Linked DNA regions of Homo sapiens: region 1 is linked to region 2. Evidence: promoter capture Hi-C in 16 types of primary human blood cells and fetal thymus (Javierre and others, 2016). All regions are on one chromosome and are shown on one strand. The core of a region is centred on a gene start or on the middle of the fragment in contact, and the rest is flanking DNA. Distances in the headings are between cores, read along the strand shown. Region 1 overlaps SP7 (Sp7 transcription factor). Region 2 holds the start of IGFBP6 (insulin like growth factor binding protein 6).

Region 1 (6,257 bases), core at 3,758-6,257, 230 kb before region 2:
TCGGGGCTCTCTCCCTCTGTCTCCCTCCTGGCCATTCTGGGCTTGGGTATCTCCTTGCATGCCTCCTCAGCTCACCTTCTCTCTTCACCATGAGACTGGCTTTCCACAAACTCTCATCTCAGGCCCTCCCCTTGTGCCTGATACCTGCACTCCGGCTTCCTAGACTCTGGCCCTGCCACACCAACACACTTTCTATTTGGGCTCCCAACACTATTTCTCCATCTCACTCCTTGACATGTACCCCTTTCTGCTTCTCAAGCTTATTTCCTGCTGTCCCTCAGCCTCCAGGCTTCAGTCTTCCCAACTTCTTACACCATTGCTTTCCATTCTCCAGAACTCTTTTTTCCTTTTTACAAACACAATGATAATGATAATTTATTGCCCCCTGGTGGCCTCTTCATCAGGGGTATTGGGGTTAGTGACCTGGCCAGAGGGTGCCAAGAGGGGGGCAGACCAGTGGGGATCTGATCCCAAAGATGGGGTGACCCCAGGGTCAGGGAGGCTGCCCCCAGGCCTGTATATTTAACCCCTATGTACCAGGAGTAATGAATAGTAATAATTCTATTTATGTAAGTTATGATGACGGGTCAGGTAGAGTGAGCTGGGGAGGGAAGTGGATCCATTTCTGCTAAGGAAATTCTAGTCAAATGCATCTCTGTATAGACAAAATGTTAGTGGAGAAGATCTTGTTAATAGAATGTCTATCATCAGAATCTCAGTTGATAGGGTTTCTCTTGTAATGAAGTCTCTACAAATTGGGTTAGCTACATCTCTGCTAAACAGTTGATGGGGTATCTCTTGATTAGGGGGATCCCTAATATCCCCAGCCCCAGCCAGAAGCTGTGAAACCTCAAGTCCTATGGAGGGGAGAAGGACTGGAATGTACCCCATCTCCCTTGACTGCAGAGCAGGTTCCTCCACTGCCCCACCCCTTAGACACCATGACCCCATCAGGTTAATCCCCTGTTGCCATGGTTATGGAGAGCTTGCAGCTGCCATCTTAGATGTGCTCTTTGGGGAAGCCCATCTAACAGGAGGACATTGGTTTGGGGGTGCACCTCCTGAAGAATGGGTGGGGAAGGCTTTCTCTAGGATCAGATTCAAATAAGTATGTATTGAGTGCCTACTCTGTGCAAGGCACTATGCTAGATCTGGTGCCTAGAAGCCCTGAGAAAGAACTTAAAGAGCTAGGAGGACAGAGGCCCCCAAGCTGATCTGGTGGTGCATCCACGCACCCCCACCCTGGGACTTTGGATGCTCCCATCTCCACCTCCAGTGACTTTTAAAGCCGCTTCGTGCCTTTCCTGTAACGTTGGATCCTCCTTTTCTGTCCCCTGCTGTCTCAAGGCCCCAAGTTAAAGGGTTAAAGCCGCTGGAGCTTGGGGAGAGAACATTGTGGAATGGAAGGGATCATGCCCTTTGTGGAGTCTTTTTTTTTTAATTTAATAAATAAAAGTTGGATTTGAAATTTTGTCCTGGTGAGAAAAGGAGAAGAGGAAGGGTGAAGCGAGGGCCAATGGTTTTTTTTCCTTAGCAAATTGGGGACTACTCATGGGCGAATATTCTATTGTGCACGTTTGCTCACCTATGCTCGCGGTAAAATAGTTTATCGGCCGGGCGTGGTGGCTCACACATGTAATCCCAGCACTTCGGGAAGCCCAGAAGGGCGGATCACCTGAGGTCAGGAGTTCGAGACCATCCTCGCTAACATGATGAAACCCTGTCTGTACTAAAAAATACAAAAATCAGCCGGGCGTGATGGCAGGTGCCTGTAATCCCAGCTGCTTGGGAGGCTGAGGCAGAAGAATCGTGGAACCTGGGAGGTGGAGGTTGCAGTGAGCTGAGATCGCGCCACTGCACTCCAGCGTGGGCTGCAGAGCGAGACTCCGTCTCAAAACAAAACACAAAACAAAATTGTTTCTCGGTCAAATCCTCCAGCGGTGTTCAGTTTTTGGGCGTGCAGTGCTTTCTGCAGAGTTGGGAAGACTCACTGGTTTCTACCCTGGCCCTTTCTGGACTGCACCAACTGACCCTGGTCAGGGCAGTGACGCGACCCGAGCGCGGGCACCGCGGTTGCAGTGCGGACTCCTGCGCGGCCCCAGTCGGGCGGTGGTGCGGCTCCCGGCGGGCAGACTGGGCCTGGCACGTAACCCGCCCCCTGCCCTGGGTCTGCAATCAGTCGTGCCCGCCACGGAGTTAGCCGAAGAACAAAAACCACTCTGTGGCAGCATCCCCGAGCCACAATAGGGCTTTGTGCGGCCCCCGCCCCCCAAGGTTACCCCGCTGGGCTGAGGGGGCTCACAGGCCGCTCCCCCCGGCCTGGGCCCGACTCCCAGCTGCGCCCCGCGTCGGACTGTCCACCGCACGGGTCGCAAGAGGGGCTGCTACGGGTGGGAGGGGGCCGGCGATCCTGGGGGGGCTCGGGTTACGAGCCCCCTCCCCACCCTGACGCCACTCCCGCCCCCGCCCAGGTGCGAAATCTCCTGCCCTCCGGCTGGGCGCGCGACTTCAAAGGCGCTTTGAAGAAATCCGAGTTCCGAAGACTTCTTTAGTGGGCTGGGGGCTGTGACGGAAGAGACCCGGGAGAGGGGGCTGGGGCAGAGGAAAGGCGGGGGGCGCCTTGGAGCTGGTCTGAGCGAGGCGGCGGCCTGGAGTGGAACCCCGGGATCCCGCCTCAACCCCGCCGGGCGGGCTCCTCCGGACCCCCCAGAGTCTGGCCCTCTCGCCTCCCGGTCTCCGCCTGTCCGGTGCCAGCTCCCGCCCGCCGCAGCCTCGCGGTCCTCCCCTCCCCAACCCTTCGGCCCCTTTCATCTTCCCTAGACTCCGCTTGGGGTTTTGCTGGTTTCTGGGAGATAAAAACCGCTTCAAATAGCGGCGGCGCGCTGCCAGGACAAACAGGGCCGGGCGGGCCATGTGCGCCTGGTTACCGGCCCCGGGTCGGGACGCCGGGCTCCAGCGGGCCCGGGAAGGGGTAGCGGGCGGAGCTCCGGGCACCCAGGCTCCGGTGACGACTCCCAAAGTAGGGGGCCCCTTTTAGAAGCGGCCTGCGCGCTCTCTCGGTTCCCGCCCAGGTCGTAGGGAGGGGCCGGCGGAGACCGCCCGCTAAGCGCTCGGAGCCCATAGGGCGTGGGTCACGGTCGCTGCGTTGCCTGGCCAGCCGCGCCCCCTGGTGAAGTTACTGGGTGAGCGCGCCGGGCCTGGACTTGGGCCTTTCTAGAACCCGCAAATGGTGAAAAGCGTTCCACAAACGTTAAATAAGCAGTATGGAGGAGGGGACAGTACTTGTGCCAGGCCAGGGCGGGGGCAGCGGGCGGAACAGCACTGTTCCTTCTCTCCAGTTCACCTTACAGGGTAAGAAGCAGGCACCTAACCGATCATTATAACCTGATGGTGAAAATCGAGGTTTCATCGAAGGATGCAAGTTGCAGGCCGGAGTGATTTTTCCTAGGGGTATCTGGGTTTGGATGGTGTTACGACTAAGGTACAAACGGAAACTATCGTGGGTCCTCAGTGCTCTCCACTAATCTGTCAGTCACCGACTTCCTCTCCCTCAAACCTGCCCACTTCCCCTTCTCAGGGAGGCTTTCCCAGCCAGGTTCCCCAAACCATCCCCAGTGTATACCTTATGTTCTTCAAGCTTTCTGTGACTTCCCAGGTGACGGTGAACTCACATAGGAAATTAAATGGGGCTATGGGAAAAGGTTAGAGCAGGGGTCGCGCCACGGCCCGTCGTGTCGGTGGCCTGTAAAGGAACCGCACAGCCGGAGACGAGCTGAGCAAGCTGAGCTCCGCCTCCTGTCAGATCAGCGGCATTAGATTCTCATAGTAGCGCGAACTCTGTTGTGAACTGCGCACGTGAAGGACCTAGGTTGCCCGCTTTTTATGAGAATCCAACTAATGCCTGATGATCTCAGGTGTAACAGTTTCATCCCCAAACCATTCCCTCCCCCGCTCCCCCTGGAAAAACTGTCTTCCACTAAACCTGGTGCCAAAAAGTTGGGGACCGCTAGGTTAGAGCCTTGCTACTTAAAATGTGGTCTGTGCAGTATCAGCTGGGGATTCTTTGGAACTATAGCCTCTGAGCGCCACCTTAGGAGATGCTCAGGTGATTCCTATGTCCCTTAACAGTTGAGAAGTACTAGATTAGAGGAGATCCACTTGCCTTCTCAGGTGAAGTGCATTTTCAGGAGACTCTGGAGCCCTTTGTTTTCTGACCTGGTAATAACTCTCTTGGGGGGAATTTTTCAGGTGAAAAAGAAGGGCAGACACGGAATCCAGAATACTAGAACTAAATGCCCCCTAGATTATTCAATGAGACTGGTAGCTCTTGGGAGTGGGGACAGCCTTCTACATCTTCAAATCACTTAACATTTGTTAATGAACTCTGACCAAGGTCACCTAGTTGATGGCACAGTTATAGCTATTAACCTCTGACATTTGTTTAGCACTTTAAAATTTATTAAATAGCTTCATTTTATTATTTTGTATGGAAAACAACCATATGAAATAATTAGGACACTGCAAATGAGAAAAGTGAGACTCAAAGAATTCAATGTTTTTTCCAAAGTCTGTAAGAGGGGCCCCCATTCTCTTTCTTTCTTTCCTTTCTTTCTCCCTCTCCCTTCCCTCCCATTTTTTTTTGTTTTGTTTTGTTTTTTGTTTTTTTTTTTTTTTGAGACGGAGTTTCGCTCTTGTTGCCCAGGTTGGATGGAGTGCAGTGGCGCGATCTCTGCTCACTGCAACCTCCGCCTTCCAGGTTCAAGGGATTCTCCTGCCTCAGCCTCCCGAGTAGCTGGGATTACAGGCATGCACCACAATGCCTGGCTGGTTTTGTATTTTTTAGTAGAGATGGGGTTTCTCCATGTTGGTCAGGCTGGTCTCGAAATCCCGACCTCAGGGGATCAGCCCACCTCAGCTTCCCAAAGTGCTGGGATTACAGGCGTGAGCCACCGCGCCCGGCTCTTTCTCTCTGGCTTGCTTGACAGGGTCTCGCTCTTTGACCCAGGCTGGAGTGCAGTGGTGCTATCTTGGATCATTGTAGTCTGGATTCTCCTATCTCAGCCTTCTGAGTAGCTGGACTAAAGACGCTTGCCACCACCACGCTGGCTAACTTTTGAATTTTTTGTAGATACAGGGTCTTGCTATTTTGCCCAAGCTGGTCTTGAACTCCTGGGCTCAAGAGATCAGCCTCGGCCTCCCAAAGTGCTGGGATTACAGGTGTGAGCTACCACACCCAGCCTTACTTTTATTCTTAAGTGAGAATAACTGGTTTGGGTGTATCTAGGTCCAATCTCTCTGTGACTCACTTTCCTCATGGTGACAGAACAGCACCCACCTTATGGGGTTGTAAAGATTATAAAAGCACTTATCGTAACAAGTGCTCAGGAAATAGTTTTGCAGCCCGGCAAGGTGGCTCAGGCCTGTAATCCCAGCAATTTGGGAGGCCAAAGCAGGCAGATCACTTGAGGTCAGGAGTTTGAGACCAGCCTGGCCAACATGGTAAAACCTCGTCTCTACTAAAAATACAAACTTAGCTGGGCGTGGTGAAGCATGCCTGTAATCCCAGCTACTCCAGAGGTTGAGGCAGGATAATCGCTTGAACCGGGGAGGCAGAGGTTGCAGTGAGCTGAGATAGCACCACTGCCTTCATCCTGGGCAATAGAGCGAGACCCTGTCTCTCAAAAAAATAAAATAAAATAAAGTTTTCCTTTTTGAGACGAAGTTTCCCTCTTGTTACCCAGGCTGGAGTGCAATGGTGCGATCTTGGCTCACTGCAACCTCCCCCTCCGGAGTTCAAGAGATTCTCCTGCCTCAGCCTCCCGATTAGCTGGGATTACAGGTGCCCGCCACCACGCCCGACTAATTTTTGTATTTTTAGTATAGATGGGGTTTTCAGCATGTTGGCCAGGCTAGTCTGCGAACTCCTTTCAGATGATCCACCCACCTCGACCTCCCAAAGTGCTGGGATTACAGGCGTGAGCCACCGCGCCTGGCAGGAAATGTTAGTTTTCCAACCGTCCCCACCTCCCTTTCCAGGACGCCTAACCGTGTGGGTGCAGCACTGTTCCTCCTCTCTGAGGCTTTTCCCTCAGCTTTCCAGCCAGCTGCCTGTGACATAGCCTGTATTTTCCTCTGGGTGATCCACAGGCCTGGGAGGATTAATTTGGTACTTCCCTGAATGTGGCTTATTTCGGGCTTTCTAAGCGCTAAGATAGTGAGTGGGAGAAGGTGTTCGGGAATTCGGAGCTGGGAAAAAC
Region 2 (7,456 bases), core at 1,576-4,075:
TGAATTTTGGAAAGCAAAAATGGAAAATGAGGATGGGTGCAATGGCTCACGCCTGTAATCCCAGAACTTTGAGAAGCAGAGGTGGGAGGATTGCTCGAGCCCAGGAGTTTGAGACCAGCCTGGGCAACATAATGAGAACCTCATCTCTACAAATAATTTATAAAATTACCGAGGTGTGGTGGCGTGCACCTGCAGTCCCAGCTACTTGAGAGGCTGAGGCAGGAGGACTGCTTGAGCCCCAGAAGTCAAGACTGCAGTGAGCCATGATTGTGCTACTGCACTTCAGCCTGGACAACCGAGTGAGACCCTGTCTCAAAAATAAATAAATTATTGGCTGGGCGCAGTGGCTCATGCCTGTCATCCCAGCACTTTGGGAGGCCAAGGTGGGCAGATCACTTGAGGTCAGGCGTTCGAGACCAGCCTGGCCAACATGGTGAAACCCCGTCTCCACTAAAAATACAAAAATTAGCCTGGCATGGTATCAGGCTCCTGTAGTCCCAGCTACTCCGGAGGCTGAGACAGGAGAATCGCTTGAACTCGGGGGGGCGGAGGTTGCAGTGAGACGCTGGACCACTGTACTCCAGCCTGGGCAACAGAGTGAGACTTTGTCTCAAAATAAATAAATACTTTTTAAAATTAATTAATTACTTAATTAAAAAAAATTAACTACTTAATTTTAAAAAATTAATTAATTACTTAATTTTAAAAAATTAACTAATTACTTAATTTTAAAAAATTAACTAATTTAAAAATCAATCAATTAATTACAATAAATAATAAAATAAATGAAAAAATGGAGAACAAATTCAAAGGACTATTTGGGGCTTTGGGCTTTGGGTGAAAAGACCTGGCTGTTCCACCAGAGGCCAGAAGGGGGCGCACGAAGCCGGAGAGCTGGGGCAGAAGAGCAACGGATGTAGGAGGGGGGCCAACAGGGACCCAAAAGGAATGTGTGTCCCTGCTGTGACCTTGCTATGACTCAACCCACCCCTCCCAGGCCTGAGATGTGGTTACTTCTGGGGCACTGCAGTGGGAACCTCTCCCTTCTGGTACCCTGTGACCCAGGCCAGCTCAACCCCAGTGGTCCCAGGAGCACATGGATTCAACCCTTAACCAAGATAGGCTGAGGGCAGATTAAGAAGGTGCAAGGAATGAGGGGCTTCCAACCTGCAGGTTGCTCCTGGCTCTGGAGAAAGTTTCCGGAGGGTCCGGGGAGAGCTCAGGACTGGGAAGGGGTGAGGAAATAAGTCAGGGACAGGAAAAGGCAGAAAGGGGAGCATGTACTGACTGCTTGGAATTTGCCTAACATCTAATCAGATATCAGAACCCCTGAAGGGATCCTCTTCCTCTGTGCCTAAAGACAAGCTCCCAGCTAACTACCACTCACAACCCAGGAGACATTTCCCCTGCAATCCTGAGTCTGATCCTTCTTCCTCAGGATGCCCACCCCTCCCCAGACCTTCTCCTTCATTCCCTACATTTAGCACCCAACCATTTAGTTCCAAACTGCCTCCTCTCATCCACCCAGACCACCTTTTAGGAGGACGCCCAGAAGCCTGCACTCGGGCATTTGGAACTGAAAGAAACTCCAAGTGAATTCTCCATCCCCTCCCGTGGAAGGAACCCAGAGCCTCTGGGATGCGCAGTTTGCATTTCCTGCCCTCCCCATCTCCCCGCTGCCCCCCATGTTTTCACGGCTGATTCACTTCTGTCCCACCCACCCAGTGACTCAGCTTCTGCTCTCCTCCCTGGAGCAGGGTGGGGTAGGATGGGTGAACGATTCTGAGCAGGTTTAAATCATAACCCTGATTTGGCAGATTCCCTCTTTCCCCTACTCTTTCTCCCCTCTCCCCTAACCTACGCCCTAGCCTGCCCTCAGTCCCTACTCAAGTCTAATACAACCCTGGATTTGGGGCCTCTTCGGTTCTAGACGCCTCCTGTTTAGGTGCTTCGAACACCGGTATTAGGAGGAAAGGAGTCATTTCTCAGTGTGTGCAGAATTTCAGAGTCTGGGGTTCCCCTCCCCTTTTCTCCAAGTGGAAGCTGAGAACAACATTTGGGTCCTTTCCCCAGCTTGGCCGTCTAGGGTTGTAGGAGCTGGGCCTGCTGGAGCCCATGGGATGGCCCTAAAACCCTCCCATTTCTCCCCCTGCCTCCCCCAAGTTCCCACCTGCACGCACACTCCATCAAGGGAAAATAAATGGAGCAAAAAAGAAGGCCGAGAGCGCAGACACCTTCTGCTGTATCACCAGGTCCCCTGGCTGCACCTCAGCTTCCTGCACTTGCCCCTTCTCCCCCACACAAATGTGCCCCCCAAAGTCGGAAGCGTCAAGGGCCAGGGCGGAAAGGCTTGCCGGGCCACCCACTCCCGTCTCCCCAGGACCCTGCCTGGAGGACGCGGGTCTCACGTGGGCGGGGCAGGGGCGGGGCGCGGACTCACCAGCAGGCGCGCGGGCCGGAAGGCAGCGGCCTCGGCCGAGCAGCAGCGCCCGCAAAGGCGCCTCGTCGTCCTTGGGCGGATGGCACTGCAGTCCTGGGGCGCAGTTAGGGGTGTAGACCCCGCACTCCTGCCCCTCCCTCCTGAGACAGCCCTCAGCTTCCGCGCAGCCCTCGGCTGGCGACCCCCCATCCTCCTCCTCCACGCAGCCCCCTGGACAACCCGCCTGCACCCCTTGCCCGCAGCCTGGGCACCGCGCCAAGGCGCCTCCTGGGCTGGCAGCGAGCAGCAGAGCTAGCAGCAGCAGCAGCGGTGGCAGCAGCCTGTGGGGGGTCATGGTCAGGGTTTGTGCCCCGTCCTCTCCTTCCAGAGCAGTCGCAGCGCAGCTGCTGCCCGCCGCCGCCCCTCTGTCTTAAGTAGCCGCCGGCCAGGGGCCGGGCCCTTTAAGAGCCAGGTGAAGGGGGGTGGGGGAGAGGGCAGGGGCATTCCCTAAACTGGGTGGGACTGGAGAGGGCCCCCCCAACCTGGGTCCTCCCCACTCTTCTTTCCCTCTCCCTTTCCAGTTTCTGTTTACTTCCCAAATTGCTCTGATTTTTCTTGCTTTGTTCCCGGGAATCTCGGCCCGGAATTTGGGAGCTGTACAGCTGGCTGGAGGGACTGGAGGGTGGGGAGGAGCGGAAGAAGGGGAGGACGGGAGTGCAATCCACTTAGTGTGTATGTGTAGGACGACGAGGGGCATGCAGGGACCCGGTGGGGAGTGAGAAGACGGGGGCTGAAAGGGAACTGAGAAGAGATGGTGTGTGTGGATCACAAGAGGAGTGGGCAAATGTGGAGGGACAGAGAAAAGATGGAGAGGGTGGATAACGGGGTCTTGGGAAATTCTACTGCTGATGGGAGAAGTAGAACAGGGCAGAGGAGAGGAAGGGCAAAATTGGGAAAGGAGTAAGAGAAAGCACCCTTGAGGTAAGACTATGGAGAAAAGGGGCCCGAGGGGAACCAGACTGGGGTAAGCCAATGGGGGAAGGGCCGGGAGGCAGGGAGGGATACAACTTGAATGAACCGTAGGAGACCCTAGCATTGTGGTGGGCGCATGCGGAGTCTGGAAGGATTGGAGAGGGCTGTGTGCAGGGTGAGAACTGGCTGGGAGGCAGGGAAAGGGGGAAATTGGCAGGTTGAAACTAGAGAGGGAGAGAATTAAAGGAACTCGTATTCGGGATGCTCTTGGGGACAGTGGCCAGAGAGCAGACCCCACCCCCCTCCCCATCCCCGTCCTTCAGGTAAGCTCGCTCCTCCATTCCTCTCCTCTCCCAGAATCCGTTTCCTTCCCTCCCAGTCATCCATGGGGTTTTCTAGATTCATCAGACTGTCTTGTGCCCAGGGGACTTTGGGGAGGGACTACTCAGCATCTTTGCCTACCTACTTGTCCGCCTTCGCTCCAAGGGTCGGGTTCCACCGCTCCCCACCCGCCTTCCCCAGGCAGTGTCCCGCCCATCCCAGGCACTCCTAGCCAGGCCTCACAAGAGAGAGGAAGAGGGATTGTTTCCTTCGGCAACCCACACCCACCCAACTCTGGGTTATGCAACAGGGACCATCTCATTCTTTCCTAAAACAAGGGCTCTGGGCAGTGACTAAGTTTAAATGCTGGGCCCCAAGCAACAATGTCAGCAAGGCCTTCTTGAACTTTTAGGTAAATAGAAATAATACGAACCTCATTGTCAGCACAGCCCGCTTCGCCATGCAACCCTGGGACCCTAGGACATGTGTTTGGAGAATGGTGTTTTCCTGTTTCCCTGAGATACTGATGCAGACTGGAGAGGCAGGGAGGAGAGGGTTGTGGGGCAGCTGATGGGAGAAGCTACTGCTGATGGGAGAAGTAGACCAGGGCAGAGGAGAGGAAGGGCAAAATTGGGAAAGGGGTGAGAGAAAGCACCCCTTCCACCAAGGCTCTTCAACCCCCTGCCACAAGCTCTGACCAAGCTCCCTGGAACCAAGGCTGTCAGAGATGGGTTCCAGAGTACTGGGGTCCTGCTGCACACCCTTTATCACTATTTATTTTGTCCTACACATGGTTCTGGCTAGGGTCTTAGGGTCTTTCTCCTGGACTTCGGGTTGGTGCTCCTGAATAAGATGGAAAGCCTGTGGGAAGTTGGGAAGGGGAAAGAGATGGCTGTGCTCTTGCAGGATCCCAGTGTGGCTCTTTTTTAAATTTAAATTTTATTTTATTTTATTTTAAGTTCTGGGATACATGTGCAGAATGTGCAGGTTTGTTACATAGGTAAACATGTGCCATGTGGTTTGCTGCCCGTCAACCCAACACCTAGGTATTAAGTCCCGCATACATTAGCTATTTGACCTGATGCTCTCCCTCCCCTAGCCCCTACCCCGCCACAGGCCCCAGTGTGTGTTGTTCCCCTCCCTGTGTCCATGTTTTCTCATTGTTTTCAGCCCCCACTTATAAGTGAGAACATGTAGTGTTTGGTTTTCTGTTCCTGTGTTAGTTTGCTGAGAATGATGGCTTCCAGCTTCATCCATGTCCCTGCAGAGGACATTATCACATTCCTTTTTATGGCTGCATAGTATTCCATGCATTTGGGTTGGTTCTATGTCTTTGCTATTGTGAATAGTGCTGCAATAAACATACATGTGCATGTATTTTTATAATAGAATGATTTATATTCCTTTGGGTATATACCCAGTAATGGGATCGTTGGGTCAAATGGTATTTCTGGTCTGGTTCTAGATTTTTTTTTTTTTTGAGGCAGGTTCTCATTTTATTTCCCAGGCTGGAGTGCAGTGACTCCATCACGGCTCACTGTAACCTTGACCTCCTGGGCTCAGAAGATCCTCCCACCTTAGCCTCCCAGGTAGCTGGGACTACAGGCACACACCACCACGCCTGGCTAATTGTATTTTTAGCAGAGAGGGGGTTTCGACATGTTGCCCAGGCTGGTCTGGAACTCCTGGGCTCAAGTGATCCTTCCGCCTTGGCCTCCCAGAGTTCTGGAATTATAGGTGTGAGCCACTGCACCCAGATTGATGTGGCTCTTTAAAGATGTTTGTCATAGTGATTCATGCCTGTAATCCCAGCACTCTGGGAGGCCAAGGTGGGAGGATCAATTGAGCCCAGGAGTTCCAGACCAGCCTGGGCAACATGACCAAGCCCCATCTCTACTAAAAATACAAAATATCAGCCAGATGTGGTGGTGCATGCCTTTAGTCCCAGCTACCTAGGAGGCTAAGGTGGAAGGGATGAGCCAAGATCACACCACTGCACTCCAGCCTGGAACAACCAGAGTGAGACCCTGTCTCAAAGAAAAAAAAAAAAAAAAAAAAAAAAAAAAAAAAAAGGCTGTGCTACTCCTTTGTAGGTTATCGTTCAGAAAAAGCCCAACACTTTGCCAGCTTCTAACATCCACCACTCCCTCCTCAACCCTCCTCAATTTCCAGCCCCCGCTTCCCACGCTGCTACCACTGCCTCAGATTCTCCCTGCCTGCCGCTCCCACCTGCCCAGCTGTTACTTTCTAGATTCTAAGCCCGATTGCACAGTCCAGTTCCACCCACCACCCCAGGATTACACTTCCCTGTTTCCCCCTCCCTCTAGCATGATCCCCAGTTGTATGGCCATCAGCACTGAGGGTCTAACCGGTCTCTTTGCAGACTGAGACGCTTGAACTCTGCCTTCCTGCCATTGGGATGCCCTCTGCCTTAGTACCCAGGGCAGAAATCTGAAGCACATGTTCAGCACTCAGACCAAGAGTGTGGGCCAAGGTACAAAACTGTCGGATTCTGTCTGGCCTTTGTGTGAGAAGGGTTTGCTGAGAAGTTTCTTCCAGGCTGAGGAAAGGCTAAATAGCTTGGGCTATCACTTAAGCTTTTCCATAAACAAACTCTACTGGAACTTCCTCCTCCGCATCTACATTATACCCTGGTTTTCTGATCCTTCATGCTGTGTCTCTCACACTCAACCCGTCCCTCTAAATTCATGGTGCCCCAAGTGCTGACTTCCTTTTGAGAACAAGGGATAAAGGAAGGGGCCTGCCTGGACCATATTCAGCTTTAAATTTGAGACGAGAAACAGTGGCACAGTCCACAGACAGAAAGTCCCAGAGAGGAAGTTCAATGACCACATCACATCATGACATGGCCTAAGGCTGACGTGGGCCTGATGGGAACTACTGTGTAAACCTCAGCTAACCTGCAGCCTCTGTTTTCTGCCATCTCTCCCACACATACCATCCAAACTGGTCCTGCTGAAATGTGCTCCTGATCCCATAATTCTCTTCTCCTCAAGGATTTCGGGGGCACTTTACTTTTTATTTCTTGGTTTTTAAATTTTACTTTAAGTTCTGGGATGTATGTGCAGAATGTGCAGGTTTGTTACATAGGTAAACATGTGCCACAGTGGTTTGCTGCACCTATCAATCCATCACTTATGTATTTATGTTTTTTGTTTTTCGTTTTTTTTGAGACGGAGTCTGGCTCTGTCGCCCAGGTTGGAGTGCAGTGACGCGAACTCGGCTCACTGCAACCTCTGCCTCCTGGGTTCAGGTGATTCTCCTGCCTCAGCCTCCTGAGTAGCTGGGATTACAGCCACGTGCCACCGTGCCCGGCTAATTTTTGTATTTTTAGTAGAGACGAGGTTTCACCATGTTGATCATGCTGGTCTCCAACTCCTGACCTCATGATCTGCCCGCCTCAGCCTCTCAAAATGCTGGGATTACAGGCATAAGCCACCATGCCCAGTCCATATATTTATGTATTAAACCCCACATGCCTTAGCTATTTGATCTGATGCTCTCCCTCCCCTTGCCCCCCGACCCCACAGGTCCCGGTGTGTGTTATTCCTCGATGTCCTCCCCTACCATAGAACCTGTGCTCCACCTGACATTCAGGGTCCCGTAGACAATGACCCTGAAACACACTCTGCTTCAGTTAGCTGGCTGAATCACCTTCCCCAGAACCCCCTGGTAGTTTCTCATCTTGGGGATTGAAATGGGATAAGGGGAAATGAGGATGAG

The links. The method cuts DNA at HindIII sites, captures the fragments that hold promoters and counts their contacts. A CHiCAGO score of 5 or more calls a contact.
Region 1: a contact is called between a fragment that was not itself captured here and the fragment with the promoter of IGFBP6 in region 2, in 1 of 17 cell types (fetal thymus). The highest score is 5.1, in fetal thymus.

Annotation. Positions count from the first base shown.
Region 1 is chr12:53,321,786-53,328,042 of GRCh38, reverse strand. It overlaps SP7 (Sp7 transcription factor), which reads left to right. Exons shown (of 3, transcript NM_001173467.3): 3 at 1-1,468. Among named protein-coding and RNA genes, the nearest start is that of AAAS, 3.3 kb to the right of the region's middle. RefSeq lists enhancers at 1-256, 3,521-4,254 and a silencer at 2,708-3,207. The HindIII fragment of the contact is 2,736 bases long and covers 3,640-6,257 here.
Region 2 is chr12:53,093,036-53,100,491 of GRCh38, reverse strand. It overlaps IGFBP6 (insulin like growth factor binding protein 6), which reads right to left and starts at 2,825. Exons shown (of 4, transcript NM_002178.3): 1 at 2,441-2,825. The coding sequence starts at 2,774. RefSeq lists silencers at 805-1,020, 2,308-2,427, 2,438-2,517. The HindIII fragment of the contact is 8,294 bases long and covers 1-6,311 here.